Regions from separate parts of the Homo sapiens genome. Here region 1 is linked to region 2. The links are contacts of gene promoters, found by promoter capture Hi-C in blood cells and fetal thymus (Javierre and others, 2016). All regions are on one chromosome and are shown on one strand. Each heading gives the region's core, a stretch centred on a gene start or on the middle of the fragment in contact. The rest is flanking DNA. Distances are from core to core; before and after follow the strand shown. Region 1 overlaps GLIPR1L2 (GLIPR1 like 2). Region 2 holds the start of ZFC3H1 (zinc finger C3H1-type containing).

Region 1 (4,900 bases), core at 1,957-4,456, 3.7 Mb after region 2:
TGGGCTTTTCTTTGTTGGGAGATTTGTATTACTGATTTTTATTATTATTATTTTATGAAATTATTATTTTATTATTTTTATTAAATCTTCTTATTAGTTATAGGTCTGTTTAGATTTTCTGTTTCTTCGTTACTACCTTTTGGTAGGTTGTATGTTCCCAGGAATAAGTCTTCTGTCTTTATTTCTTACTCAGTCTTGCTAAATGTTTATCATTTTTGCTGATCTTTTTGAAGAACCAGCTCATAGTTCTGTTGATTTTCTCTGTTGTTTTTCTGTTCTCTATTTTATTTATCTCTGCTTCAATCTTTATTATTTCCTTCCTCTGGTAACTTTGGGTTTTGTTCAATTTTCCTTTTCTTTTTACCTATGGTGTACAGTTAGGTTGTTGATTTGGAGTCTTTCATCTTTTTAAAAAAAATGTAAGCTCTTACACTCATACATTTTCCTCTTAGCTCTGTTTTTTGCTAAATTCCATAAGTTTAAATAGTTGTGTTTTCATTTTCATTTTTTCCCAAGGTATTTTCTTTTGTGATTTCTTTTTTGATTCATTGCTTAAGAGTGTGTTGCTTAGCATTATTATTTCATTTTTTAAATTATTTTTTGAGACAGGATCTCACTCTCTTGCCCAGGCTGGAGTGCAGTGATGTGATCTCAGCTCACTGCAGCCTTTAACCCTGGGGCTCAAGTGATCCTCCCATCTCAACCTCCTAAGTACTGGGACTACAGGTACTCACCACCACGCCCAGCTGATTTTTGTATTTTTTGTAGAGGCAGAGTTTTGCCATGTTGCCCAGGCTCGCACCTGGCCCATTATAATTATTTATGCTAGCAACTATTACTTCTTGTATTGCACTACCACTTTCTGGAATCAGTTTCCTTGTGCCTAAAATACGTCTTTTAATAGCTCATTCAGCAAGGGAGTGTGAATAGTAAACTTAATATTTCTATATGTAAAATAATCTTTACTTCACACTCTTGAATGATATTGTTCTCTCTCAGCACTATCTTCTGTCTCCCACTGTTGCTTTTGAGGTTTCTTTTGTTAGCTGAACTCAGAGGTTCCCACAGTATGGTTCCTATACCAGCAACAACAGAATCACCTGTGAACTTGTTAGAAATTAAAGTTCTCAGGACCTATCCCAGACTTACTGAATCAGAAATCCTGGTTTTGAAACCCAGTACTCTGTATTTTAATTAAAGTCCTCCAGATGATTCTGAAGTGTGCTAAAGTTTGAGATCCACTAGTCTTTTGGTTGTTATTTTAAAGATGATTTATATTTTCTCTCCAGCTACTTTAAATATTTTATATTTGCTGTTCTGTAGTTTTACCCCATACTAGTACTAAGCATGCATTTATTTTTATTTATTTTGTTCAGGACTTTTCTTTTTAATCTCTGTATCCATGTCCATTGTTAAGACTAAAATTCTTCAGTATTATTTCATAGAATGTTGCCTCTTCCCCATGCTCTCTAGTCTCCCTGTCTTGAACTCCTATTAGATGTATGTTTGACTTTTTCATTCCTTTTCTCCACAGCTCTCCATTTTCTCCCTACAGTCCATCTCTTTTTCTGTTTTCCTTCAGAGTCATTGCTTTAGAACTGCTGTTCATTCACTAGTTTTCTCTTCAGATTTTTATGATATATTTAACTGGCCAATTGATTTTTTAAAATTTCTAGACTTTTTTTTTAATTTGCTCATATTCCCCCAGTGTCCTGTTTTCTCTTATGATTTCTATTTTTACACTCATTTAATCATTTTAAACATAATTATTTTATATTTTCATAAAATATTTTTAGTGCTTTATTATTTTAGTTTCTTTGGGTGCCAGTTCTCTTGTTTTAGCTACTGAGCCTCTGTCATGTTTATAATTTTCTATCCTATGCTTATTTTCAGCAGAGATTGTGTGTGTGTGAAAGAGTCCCATATTGTCCAAATAGTGGAAAAATAAATATTGCTACAGACTAATTTTTATTAGCTTTTGCCTTACTCCCCTGTTACAGTCAGTTTTACATTTATATTTTTTATATTTATAATGTGTTAAGTTTTGATATTTAAAATTTGTTTGGGTATTCTCAGCATATATAGGCAATGTAAGTATAGTGTCCACTTGTAGGCATAGGATAGATCTAGAACTGATTTCTCACATGACATGACTTTTTTCCATCTGACTTTCTGTCACTTCCTCAGACTTCTAGGAAGGGTTTGGTGGTCTGCTTCATTTAGGAAGAAGTCGGCATCCTGATTTTTCCGCAAATATTTCAGTCCCAGAACTTGTCTTAGATGGTTCTATGGCTACATCTTCTTCCTATATTGTTGGCATTTATATCTAATCTGATATTTCCTCTCCTCCGATTAGGCACATGAGTTCACCACTCGGACTTTTAACTTTTCTCTTCATTTCTGGCACCTGAGTATTACCTTTCCTTCCTTTGAGCTCAGCTGTGGATTTAAAAAAAAAAAAAAAAAAATGCCGGGAGCGGTGGCTCACGCCTGTAATCCCAACACTTCGGGAGGCCAAGGCGGGCAGATCACTTGAGGTTAGGAGTTCTGACCAGCCTGGCCAACATGGTGAAACCCTGTCCCTACTAACAATACAAAAATTGCCGAGCGTTGTGGCAGGCGCCTGTAATCCTAGCTACTCCGAAGGCTGAGGCAGGAGAATCGCTTGAACCCGGGAAGCAGAGGTTGCAGTGAGCTGAGATCGCACCACTGTACTCCAGCCTGGGCGATAGAATGAGACTCCATCTCAAAAAAAAAAAAAAAAAAAAAAACTTTTATCATATAAAGATTGAATTATATGAATTGCTCTTCAACCATTTTTGACCTAGAAAACGCAAGCAATTTCATAGGATTTAAACTAAACATTTTATTCCCATTTTTATGGGTTTGTAATATTAGAAGATTGTGTCTTAGCTTCGTCCTCTTTGTTGCTTCAACTTTCTTACATTCTTGGATGCTAGGAGCACAGAATCCCTCCCTTCTTTTTCTGAGCTGTTCTGGGGCTGAGTGATTCCTAATTCTAACCTGACATGGTAGTACTAGGAGAAGGCTCAAGACTTAGACTCCTCTCATGTACCAGATAATGGGCTGTAGTTTTATATGTAATATCAATTTTTAATTTAATATTACAAATAAATCTTCCTCCTTTTTTAAAAAAAGAAAGAACAGTGCAGTCAATGTTAACATTTTCTAACAGCCACTTCAGTTATGTTCCCTTTCTCCATCCCCAGAGAAAATAACCTTTATGAGTTTGATATGAATCATTCTAATACATTTTTTAAGGTTTTGAATATATATGTGATTATCTAGACCAAAAACACAATGTTTGGAGGTTTCCGTCTTATATTTCTATAAGTGGCATTATGTGGAATTTATCATGTTACTTGGTTTTTCATTCAAAACTATACATTTGAGATTTATTTGTTGATATAAATCTAGTTAATTCAGTTTTATTTGCTATGCTATTTATCCCTTAAATGTACTACCTTTTTTACCTATTCCTTTATTGATGGACATTCAGGTTGTTTTAAAAATAAATAAGCATAGCCAGGATATTTTGAAAAATGAGGGTTATTGAACATATTAGATTTTATAGCATATAATAAAGCCTCACTAAGTAAAATAATACAGTATTAGTATGTTAAAAGATATACCATTGAAAGATATAGAGTTCAGAAATAACCCAAATATATGAGTGTTTAGCATATGATAAAAGTAGCATCTCAAATCTGTGAGCTATAGATAGACTTTTTAATAAATTGGTGTTGATCAATCTGGGTAGTCATTTGAAAAAGGTAATATTGCTTCATCCATACATCAATATAAATTCCAACTAGTCAACAATTCCCCACAGACAAGACAACAAAACTATTGTTGAACTTTGGAGTTTTACTAGCCTGATAGGTAAAATATGATCTGTGATTTTTATTTCTCTTATTATAAGCAAAGCTGTGTATCCTTTCATGTGAATAAGGATCTGTTAGTATCCTTTAATGATTATTTTTCTATTAGTTTTTTTGCCTTTTTTTCTCCCATTATTTATTTGGGAAATGAGCCCTTCGTCTTTGGTATGAGTTGTAATTATGTTCCCAGTTTGTCAGTTTTTTAAATCTACATATGTATTTTTTGCTATTCAGACTTTTTAACATTTTTGTGTAGCTGACTAATCAGTTTTTTAAAATTGCTTCTGGATTTTGTGTCAAAGTCAAAGACCATGCCTACTCCATGTACTACTGGTGTGAAAGCAAAATGATATAGTCCTTGTAGAGAAGAATCTGGCAATACCTACTACATTACAGATGTATTTACTCTTTGGCTCTCTGGTCCCATTTCTGGTATCTATCCTAAGGACATACTATACAAGAAGGAAATGGTATCCCTAAACGGTTATTCACTGTACCATCATTTAATATTAACAAATTATTGGAAAGATACTCTAATCTCCAGCACTGAGGGTTAACTAAAGTAAGTGTGGTTCACCCACATAAAAGAATACCATACACCTGTGGGGAAAAAAAAGAATGAGAACGTTTTTTATTTTTTTATTTTTATTTTTTGAGACAGAGTCTCGCTCTGTTGCCCAGACCGGAGTGCAGTGGCGCCATCTCGGCTCACTGCAACCTCTGCCTCCTGGGTTCATGCCATTCTCCTGCCTCAGCCTCCCGAGTAGCTGGGACTACAGGCACCTGCCACCACGCCCGGCTAATTTTTTTTTGTATTTTTTTTAGTAGATATAGGTTTTCACCACGTTATAGGATGGTCTCAATCTCCTGACCTCGTGATCCTCCCGCCTTGGCCTCCCAAAGTGCTGGGATTACAGGCGTGAGCCACCGTGCCCGGCCTGAACGTTCTTTATACTAACAACACAATATCTCATGGATCTTGGAAAAGCAAGGTACAT
Region 2 (4,810 bases), core at 858-3,357:
AAAGTGTTGGGATTACAGGCGTGAGCCACCACGCCTGGCGCCTACATGATTTTCTCCGAAACAATCCTGAAATACTCCTAACCCAACTTTTGGTTGCAGAAGTAAGGTTTTTCAGGGAACTAGCATCAGAAGCTGCTGTTTCTCACCTAAATGTACATTCCTTGCCCCTTTTACATCATGACATTTGAGAAAGACCTATTCTGGACCTAAGTGTTCTATAAAAGTAATTCTGATTGTCTTCCAAATAACTGTCATTACTTTTAAGTTTCATATATAATAACGAAATTAAAAATCATCACACTATGTGAATTACAACCAGTAATGAAAGTCTTTAAACAATTTTTGCAATGATCACAGATTAAGTCAAGATAGTGTTTTACAAACCCATTATAAAACAGGAAACCTTCGGATGATTGATTCCTCTGTATAAATGCTGAGTAAACTCAGTAATGTTTAAAACTGAGAATAAGGTTAGAAGTAGGAAAAATCTGGAATGTTACTATTTCCTTTCTCAACTTACCCGTAATCTCCACCCTCGCATACACATTCCTCCACTCTAACGTATTAAAATAAAAATGCTGATAAGTTTATCTTTCTCTCTCTGGCCCTCATTTAGTCAGCACGAAGTTACACAATGTGCAAAAGTGAACACAGATAGAAACGTAAAGGAGGTAAAGTGTTCCAAAAAGATCAAATGAATCAAAAAGCTCTGAAACAGACTTGGTAAAGACACCAGAGTTGTTTTTTTTTTACCCCTCCCCCCCCCACTTTAAAAGGCAGCAACCGGAATAAATCAAGATAAAAACAGAATCACAAAAATAGTGCAGGACTGTGCAGATTAAAACTTTACAATTTTCAACGTCAAACTGCAATATGATAAAGCAACAATATTACTTAAACTGTTTATGAATATTTTTTCTCTAACAATCCAAGTCAACTTCATATAAAACACAAAGTTTCTGTACCAGCAAAAATACAAATGCTAATGAAACTTGGGCTTCTAAGGTATTATTACAAATCAGACTTAACTGTCTTAGATTTCATAAGCTTAACCCAATCCACAGCACGTTAATATACCCAATGAAGCAGTCTTAAGAATAACGCTATAGTGTGACACATGGGGAATTACCAAAGAACAACTTAAAGTATACTGACACAGGGAGAAATAAGCGGTTCTGATGATTCAAAGTTACACTCGTCTCACAGACCTAGTAATGACGCTAAAGGGAACTTTAGTGACACACCCAGCGCCGACCGCCACGTTAAGGATACAGCTCTTCCGAGGTGGAGAGGGCTCTCGCCAGCTCTGACTGCTGCTGAACCCGGATCCTGCTCCTCCTCCCAGAGGAGGTCTGCACCCCGGCTTGCCTCCTCGCTCACCCACTCCTCGCCCCCGACTCCAGCGACTCCCACCCCGGTAAGGCCTGCCTCGAAAGCGGAAACGGTCCAAGGCGAGGTGGCTCCGCTCCCAGAAAGACGGCCGGGGACTGCTTTCGGACAGTGAGCTCGAAGGCATCCGTACAGAAGGCGGATGAGACCGGAACGGTTCTTTGGGTCGGTAGCTGCTGGGTCCCCTGAGGTGGCCCCGCTCAGACGCGTGCCGCGAGCGTGAGAAATTCCTCAGCTGCTGCTGAGAAGAGGACGATGACGAGGAAGAGCCACCGCCTCCGCCAGATCCACCGCCCCGGGCCGAGTGAGGAGGCCTTCGCCGCGGATAGGGTAACAGCCCGCCGCCGCTGCTGCTGCTGCTGCTCCGACTCCGTATCTGGCTGTTATTATCGTCGTCACTGATTTCCCCATCTTCAAGCTCCCCTTCTTCCTTCGGCGAGAGGCCACTGGAGGCCGGGGCCGGAGTATCTGCGGTCGCCATCCGGGGAGCAGCGCCTTCCACACAACCTTAGCCCTCCGTCCGGGGATCCGCCCGACAATTGCCTCGTTTCCCTTCTTTCCTAACGGACTGGGTCGGTGCGGTCTTACCCTACTCGGACACCAAGCGGCCTCTGCTCCCCAACTTCCCCGCACCCCAGCACCCCAGCTCTCTCTCGCCGGACCGTCGCAACCCAGTTCCCTTTCCTAGCGCCCCCTTGCTCCTCAGCGATCGGGGTTCTTCCGCCTCGCGAGAAAGGGACTCTGGTAGCGGCTGTACCCGAAACGTCACTTCCTGCGACACGCAGGAAACAAAGGCTCCCAGTTCACGCGATAATAAGACCAACTCGATACTCACTAGGATTTGTAGTCTTTCGTCTTTCTTCGGGTTTACTCTTCCGGTCCTAGGGTCACACCCACCGCAGGGTCTGGCTTGGTACAGTTGGGTGCATGCAGAAGTAGGTGGAGCTGCTGTTGCAGCCTTGAGAGAGTTTTATTGTAAAACTCTTGTAATTTATAGTAATCGGAGGGGAAAACACCTCTTCCTTTTAATTGCTCTGAGGACCGCTGCCAAAGAAACGCAGTAGATCCGCTCCCTCTTGGGGGCGGGGAGAAAGAACGGGTTGTGTCCGCCATGTTGGTGAAGTCAAGCGAAGGCGACTAGAGCTCCAGGAGGGCCAGTTCTGTGGGCTCTAGTCGGCCATATTAATAAAGAGAAAGGGAAGGCTGACCGTCCTTCGCCTCCGCCCCCACATACACACCCCTTCTTCCCACTCCGCTCTCACGACTAAGCTCTCACGATTAAGGCACGCCTGCCTCGATTGTCCAGCCTCTGCCAGAAGAAAGCTTAGCAGCCAGCGCCTCAGTAGAGACCTAAGGGCGCTGAATGAGTGGGAAAGGGAAATGCCGACCAATTGCGCTGCGGCGGGCTGTGCCACTACCTACAACAAGCACATTAACATCAGCTTCCACAGGTAACCTGGGCAGGGAGTGGGGGTGACGGAAACTGGAGTTCCTATTGTGGCTATCGCTTGTGTGGAAGGAACAGGAGGATTCTGCTAATTCTAATAACTTTCCCAGCTGGTAGCAGGGAAGCATCGTATGTCCTTTGTGTTTCTCAAATCTGCCCAATTGTTCTCTGCTTTCGGGGAAGCTTTACTCATTTTCTAAAAGAAATCCAAGTACTGTTTGGTCATTACCCCTTAGTAAAAAAAAGTAACAGGAGGATATCGTAATTTTCTACTGTTTTATTCCTCTGTTAGACCGGGCCTTGACATGAATGACGCCGTAAGGGAGAAAGAGATCTTCCCAATCAGCAATCACCGTAAAAGCCTGCTGTGTTCCCGTTAAAATTAGGAAATTCTCACTAGATGAATTGACATGGGAGGCATTTAGATTTCTAATAGTCACATAGTAATTCTGCGGAGGAATTGAGTCATCTTTGATAGCCATGGAATTAAGCGATGTTAATTAAAGTGCAAAAGATAACCTTTCTGTTCTTACTAGAATAGAGTAATAAAAAGAACCTAGGTTTTCTTTTGTTTGCTGGAAGAAAAATCAAAATTCTTTAGTTCTGTCAAACCAGAACTCTTGAAAGCACTTTGAACAATGCCTGGAAAATAACAGGTACTCTGTAAATGTTTACCTTCTCTGCAAGTGCCTGCCACGTGCCCGAAGAAAAGACACATTAAAAAGTTAAGTGACACCAGTCCTGATTTTATATATTTTATATACCTAACAACGTATATGTTAGTATGTAGAAATTATATCCTTGACCTTTTTCCCTACCTATTACGAACTGTACTTTTATTAAAAGCTGCCACTTAAAAAAAATCTTGTGATGTTTCTGTTTTTAAACTAGTTCATGCATATGTAGTGCTTTGTTCATTCATCCATCAAATATGTACGGAGTTCCTAATTACCTGACATTGTGCTAAGGATCCAGAAAGTTCTAACCCTCCTGGAATTTAGAATTTAATGGTGGAGAAAGACATAAATAATTAAGTGCCACAGAAGAAACATTCAGAGACCTAACTTAGTCTTGGAAAGTCAAAGAACACTTTTTCAAAGGATGTGACATTTCAAATGAGACCAAAGGATGACAGATTGGGTCCTGTGTGCTACTTAAGTATTTTCTGTTTTATCCTAAGAGTACTTGAGAAACCATGGAGGGTTTAAAAAAGAATGGCACGATTAGATTTGCATATTGAAAAGTCCTCTGGCTGCAGTGTAGAGAATCGTAGTGTTACTGAAAGTGCTGGTCAAGCATCATCGGGAATGAACTTGATGAGAAAGGAACTTATTACAGAATATTAATTTACCTATTTTTTTCCTTCACAGGGAAATCTTGCTACAATGTCAACTAAACTAAACCCTTTACTCAGTTGCTGGCACAATCAGCATTGAATTAGGGAATGTGTGAGCTGACAGAGAAAAACTAGTTAGGAAGCTGTAGTAAATAAAACAAGGAAAGTCCACCCAAATTTCTAGACTAGGGTGATATTAGAGTAGAAATGGAGAGGAGGGGACAGATTGGAGAAATGTTCAAGGAGAAACTACTGAATTTAGTAATTTGATTGGATAGATGAGAGAGGGGAGTCCAGACACCAATAACAATGTTTAACCCAGTGTGGTGGCTCACACCTGTAATCCCAGCACTTCGAGAGGCCAGGGCGGGCTGATCACTTGAGCCCAGGAGTTTGAGACCAGCCTAGGCAACATGGTGAAACCTCGTCTCTACAAAAAAATACAAAAAAATCAGCTGGCCCTGGTGACGCATGCCTGTAGTCCCAGCTACTCCGGAGGCTGAGGTGGGAGGACTACCTGAACTGGGGAAGTTAAGGCTGCACTGAGCCATAATCATGCCACTGTACTCCAGCCTGGGCAATACAGTGAGACCCTGTCTCAAGAAAAAACAAAAAACAAAACAAAAAAAAAGAGATGG

What was found. Contacts are between HindIII fragments. The CHiCAGO score rates a contact against its expected background, and 5 or more counts as called.
Region 1: a contact is called between a fragment that was not itself captured here and the fragment with the promoter of ZFC3H1 in region 2, in 1 of 17 cell types (non-activated CD4 T cells). The highest score is 5.7, in non-activated CD4 T cells.

The regions. Positions count from the first base shown.
Region 1 is chr12:75,395,581-75,400,480 of GRCh38, forward strand. The region is part of intron 1 of GLIPR1L2 (GLIPR1 like 2); the gene reads left to right. Among named protein-coding and RNA genes, the nearest start is that of GLIPR1L2, 6.9 kb to the left of the region's middle. The HindIII fragment of the contact is 8,872 bases long and covers 1-4,900 here.
Region 2 is chr12:71,661,741-71,666,550 of GRCh38, forward strand. ZFC3H1 (zinc finger C3H1-type containing) reads right to left here and starts at 2,108. Exons shown (of 35, transcript NM_144982.5): 1 at 1,273-2,108. The coding sequence starts at 1,870. THAP2 (THAP domain containing 2) reads left to right here and starts at 2,561. Exons shown (of 3, transcript NM_031435.4): 1 at 2,561-2,840. The coding sequence starts at 2,770. RefSeq lists enhancers at 1,731-1,850, 2,203-2,761, 2,211-2,570. The HindIII fragment of the contact is 1,665 bases long and covers 1,046-2,710 here.